Regions from separate parts of the Homo sapiens genome. Here region 1 is linked to region 2. The links are contacts of gene promoters, found by promoter capture Hi-C in blood cells and fetal thymus (Javierre and others, 2016). All regions are on one chromosome and are shown on one strand. Each heading gives the region's core, a stretch centred on a gene start or on the middle of the fragment in contact. The rest is flanking DNA. Distances are from core to core; before and after follow the strand shown. Region 1 overlaps BSN (bassoon presynaptic cytomatrix protein). Region 2 holds the start of MST1R (macrophage stimulating 1 receptor).

Region 1 (2,700 bases), core at 175-2,674, 320 kb after region 2:
TTGGATTGTTTGTAACTCAAAGGATAAATGCTTGAGGGGATGGATACCCCATTCTCCATGGTGTGCTTATTTCACGATGCATGCCTGTATCAAAACATCTCAGGTACCTTATAAATATATACACCTACTAAGTGCCCAAAAAAATGAAAAATAGAAAATAAAACAAAAAAGAGAAAAGACCTCAAACCAATAACCTAAACTTCCGACTTAATACTTAGAAAAAGAAGAGCAAACTAAACACAATGTAAATATAATGAAGAAAATAATAAAGATTAGAGGTGAAATACAGAATAGAAAATAGAGAAAGACAATAAAACCAAAAGATGGTTCTTTCAAAAGATAAAAAAAAAATCAATAAGCCTTCTTTTAACAAAGAAAAAAAGATTCAAATGACTAAAATCAGAAATAAAAGAAAGGATGTTACTACCAATCTTAAATAAATTAAAAGGATTGGCCGGGCGTGGTGGCTCACGTCTGTAATCCCAGCACTTTGGGAAGCCGAGGTGGGTGGATCACGAGGTCAGGAGATCGAGACCCTCCTGGCTAACACGGTGAAACCCCGTCTCTACTAAAAATAAAAAAAATAAAAATAAAAATTAGCTGGGCATGGTGGTGGGCACCTGTAGTCCCAGCTACTCAGAAGGCTGAGGCAGGAGAATGGAGTGAACTCGGGAGGCAGAGCTTGCAGTGAGCCGAGATCGCGCCACTGCACTCCAGCCTGGGCGACAGTGCGAGACTCCATCTTGATAAATAAATAAATAAATAAATAAATCGGATTGCAAGAGAATACTATGAACAACCACACATCCTTAGGTAATTTAGATGAAATTGACAAATTCCAAGATGCAAACTATCAAAACTGACTCAGGAAGAAATGAAAAATCGGAATAGACCTATAACACATAAATAAACTGAATAAGTAATTTTAAAACTTCCCACAAAGAAAAGCTTATGCTCAGTTGTCTTCACTGGTGAATCCTACTAACCATTGAAAAAGAATTTATTTTTTAAAAATTTTATTTTATAACAGACAGGGTCTTGCTCTGTCATCCAGGCTGGAATGCAGTGACACAATCATAGCTCACTGCAGCCTCGAACTCCTGAGTTCAAGTGATCCTCCCACCTCAGCCTCCCACAGTGCTGGGATTAGAGGCATGAGCCACTGTGCCCAGCCAAAAATAAATTAATATCAACAAAGATACTACAAGAAAACTACAGATCAATTTTCCTTATGAAAAGAGATGCAAACATCCTTAAGAAAATACTAGCACACTGAATTCAGCAGCATATTAGAAGTATTGTACATCCTTCTATTGGGCTTTATTTCTGGAATGCAAGGTTGACTGAACATCCAAAAATCAATCAATGTTCCAGACACAGTGGCTCACACCTGTAATCCCAGCACTTTGGGAGGCCGAGGTGGGCAAATCACTTGAGGCCAGGAGTTTGAGACCAGCCTGGCCAATATAGTGAAACCCCATCTCTACTAAAAATACAAAAATTAGCCAGGAGTAGTTGCACGCACCTGTAATCCCAGCTACTCTGGAGGCTGAAGCAGGAGAATCTCTTGAACCTGGGAGGCAGAGGCTGCAGTGGGCCAAGATTGCACCACTGCACTCCAGCCTTGGGAACAGAGCAAGACCCTGTCTCATAAATAAATAAATAAATAAATAAATAAATAAATGTAATACACCATATTAATAGAATGAAGGGAATGAAGGGAAGAAACTATATGTTTACCTCAATTGATGCAGAAAAAGCATTTGACAAAAGTCAATACACTTTCATGATTCAAAAGACTTAAGCTAGAAATAGAAGGGAACTTTCTCAATATGATAAGGACTATTTATGAAAAGTTCACAGCTAACATAATACTCAATAGTGAAAAATTAGAAGCTTTCCCTTTACAATCAGAAACAAGACAACGATGTGCAAGGAAGTTTTACCATTTCTATCTAACATAGTACTGGAAGTCCTAGTCAGAGCTATTGGGCAAGAAAAAAAATAAATAAAGGACATCCAAATTGGAAAAGAAGAAGTAAAATTATCTCTACCTGCAGACCACATGATCTTACATGTAGATAACCCTAAACAGGCCACAAAAAAGTTAGAACTAATAAACAACTTCAGCAAAACTGAAGGATATAAAATCAACACACAAAAGGCAGTTCATTTCAGCTGGGCCTGTAGTTCCAGTTCCTCAGTAGGCTGAAGCAAGAGGGTTGCTTGAGCCCAGAAATTTGAGCCTGTAGTGTGTTATGACTGCAAATGTAAATAGCCACTGAACTCCAGCCTGGGCAACACAGCAAGACCCTGTCTTGAAAACAAAAATAGGCAAAGGACTTGAACAGACATTTCTCTAAAGATTTACAAATGGCCAATAAGCCATTGATTAGAAAAATGCAAATCAAAACTACAATAAGATACCACTTCACACTCTTTAGGCTATTACTAAAAACAAACAAAATAAACAGAAAATAACAAGTGTTGACAAGGACGTGGAAAAATTGGAACCCTCATACAATGATGGTGGAAATGTAAAACGGTACAGCTGCTACAGAAAAATTTTTGGCAGCGCCTCGAAAAGCCTAACATAAAATTACCATATGATCCAGGAATTCCACTCTTAGGTTTATATCCAGAGGAAGTAAAACCAGGGACTTGAACAGATACTTGAATGCCAATGTTTATTACACCATT
Region 2 (2,700 bases), core at 115-2,614:
GCCTCGGCCTCCCAAAGTGCTGGGATTACAGGCGTGAGCCACCACGCCCGGTCACATATTTTATTTTAAAAACATTTTTAGCAGTTTTTTTGTTTTGTTGAGTTTTGTTATGTTGCCCAGGCTGGTCTTGAACTCCTAACCTCAAGCAATCCTCCTGCCTTGGCCCCTCAAAGGAGTGCTAGGATTACAGGCATGAGCCACGGTGCCCAGCCCAGAACTACATTCTCATTGAAGAGAATAAGATCCAGCAAGGCCTACAGAGCATGTTGGAAGTGTCCTGAGAGCCAAAGCCCATGATTCCTCCATATCAGGGGGGCACTGGGTAGAGCCAGGAAGGAAGGGGGAGTCCCCAAGGCCCATACTGTGGACCCCATTATACAGCTTCCATATACTGAGGCTGCAGAGGAGGTATGGGCCTCCACTTACGTGCCTCTCTGACTCTGAGGTCCAGTCAGCAAGGCCAGATCCCATCCTAAGACCCTTATGGCCCTGGGAGAGCAGGGCATAACACACCTTCCTCTGACACCATCTTGTCGCTGATAGCTCAGGAGAAGCACATGGAAGAATGGTCCCGGCCGGGCGCGGTGGCTTACGCCTGTAATCCCAACAGTTTGGGAGGCTGAGGCGGGCGGATCACCTGAGGTCAGGAGTTTGAGACCAGCCTGGCCAACACTGTGAATCCTGTCTCTACTAAAAATACAAAATTAGCCGGGTGTGGTGGTGCGCGCCTGTAATCCCAGCTATTCAGGAGGTTGAGACAGGAGGAGGTTGAGGCTGGAGAATCGCTTGAACCTGGGAGGCGGAGTTTGCAGTGAGCCGAGATCGCGCCACTGCAATCCAGCTTGGGCCACAGAGCAAGACTCCTTCTCAAAAAAAAAAAAGGACAGTCCTTTCCCACAAAGGGTGGCGCCCCATAACATCTCTTGTAAGTGCCCCACATCTCCCCTCTGGTCTTCCACACAATCCTGGTCTCTGTTCTCCACATGGTGGGCCCCCAGGCCACCTCTGGGCACCAGCCACTGAGGGTGTTGCTACTAAGTGCAAACTAGTTCCACCGCAAGCAAAGAGCCCAGTGTCCTGCCCCCCTTCTCGCTGCGAACCAGTCGGTAGTGGGGGGATGGGATGGGACGGCTCAGACTGGCTCACCTCTCTCCAGGCCACACCATGCACATCCACCCACAGGCCGCTGAGAAAAAGGCGCCAAGACGCCAGGTGAAGGTACAGGAGCCAGGCCTCCAAGGGCCGGAAGAGTCGGATGGGCGGAGGGCCTGGGCTAGGCCAAGCCTTCCTCGCGGCCCCGCCCCCACGGCCCGACTCCGCCCGCCCAGCCCGGCGCCCTCGGGTCGGCTGAGCGCTAAGCGCCAGTGTACAGCGGCGGCTGGGGCGGCAGGTGAGGCGGCTGGGGCGTTGCTGTCGTGCGTCCGCAGGCGTCAGGTGCTCAGACCCGAGGGCCGGGAAGGGATTTGGGTTTCACAGGAACCTGGGGCGGGGGTCCGCTATCTTGGGGCTGTCGGGACCGCTGCTTAAATTTGGCCCAGTCCAGACCTCGAGTCGGGCCCCCAGCCAGGCCCACGCCCAGGTCCAGGCCCAGGCCGGTAGGGATCCTCTAGGGTCCCAGCTCGCCTCGATGGAGCTCCTCCCGCCGCTGCCTCAGTCCTTCCTGTTGCTGCTGCTGTTGCCTGCCAAGCCCGCGGCGGGCGAGGACTGGCAGTGCCCGCGCACCCCCTACGCGGCCTCTCGCGACTTTGACGTGAAGTACGTGGTGCCCAGCTTCTCCGCCGGAGGCCTGGTACAGGCCATGGTGACCTACGAGGGCGACAGAAATGAGAGTGCTGTGTTTGTAGCCATACGCAATCGCCTGCATGTGCTTGGGCCTGACCTGAAGTCTGTCCAGAGCCTGGCCACGGGCCCTGCTGGAGACCCTGGCTGCCAGACGTGTGCAGCCTGTGGCCCAGGACCCCACGGCCCTCCCGGTGACACAGACACAAAGGTGCTGGTGCTGGATCCCGCGCTGCCTGCGCTGGTCAGTTGTGGCTCCAGCCTGCAGGGCCGCTGCTTCCTGCATGACCTAGAGCCCCAAGGGACAGCCGTGCATCTGGCAGCGCCAGCCTGCCTCTTCTCAGCCCACCATAACCGGCCCGATGACTGCCCCGACTGTGTGGCCAGCCCATTGGGCACCCGTGTAACTGTGGTTGAGCAAGGCCAGGCCTCCTATTTCTACGTGGCATCCTCACTGGACGCAGCCGTGGCTGCCAGCTTCAGCCCACGCTCAGTGTCTATCAGGCGTCTCAAGGCTGACGCCTCGGGATTCGCACCGGGCTTTGTGGCGTTGTCAGTGCTGCCCAAGCATCTTGTCTCCTACAGTATTGAATACGTGCACAGCTTCCACACGGGAGCCTTCGTATACTTCCTGACTGTACAGCCGGCCAGCGTGACAGATGATCCTAGTGCCCTGCACACACGCCTGGCACGGCTTAGCGCCACTGAGCCAGAGTTGGGTGACTATCGGGAGCTGGTCCTCGACTGCAGATTTGCTCCAAAACGCAGGCGCCGGGGGGCCCCAGAAGGCGGACAGCCCTACCCTGTGCTGCGGGTGGCCCACTCCGCTCCAGTGGGTGCCCAACTTGCCACTGAGCTGAGCATCGCCGAGGGCCAGGAAGTACTATTTGGGGTCTTTGTGACTGGCAAGGATGGTGGTCC

The links. The method cuts DNA at HindIII sites, captures the fragments that hold promoters and counts their contacts. A CHiCAGO score of 5 or more calls a contact.
Region 1: a contact is called between a fragment that was not itself captured here and the fragment with the promoter of MST1R in region 2, in 1 of 17 cell types (erythroblasts). The highest score is 5.6, in erythroblasts.

Annotation. Positions count from the first base shown.
Region 1 is chr3:49,581,937-49,584,636 of GRCh38, reverse strand. The region is part of intron 1 of BSN (bassoon presynaptic cytomatrix protein); the gene reads right to left. Among named protein-coding and RNA genes, the nearest start is that of BSN, 29 kb to the right of the region's middle. The HindIII fragment of the contact is 948 bases long and covers 951-1,898 here.
Region 2 is chr3:49,902,537-49,905,236 of GRCh38, reverse strand. MST1R (macrophage stimulating 1 receptor) reads left to right here and starts at 1,364. Exons shown (of 20, transcript NM_002447.4): 1 at 1,364-2,700. The coding sequence starts at 1,628. RefSeq lists enhancers at 319-991, 980-1,029, 1,666-2,339, 2,340-2,700 and a silencer at 1,220-1,439. The HindIII fragment of the contact is 26,972 bases long and covers 1-2,700 here.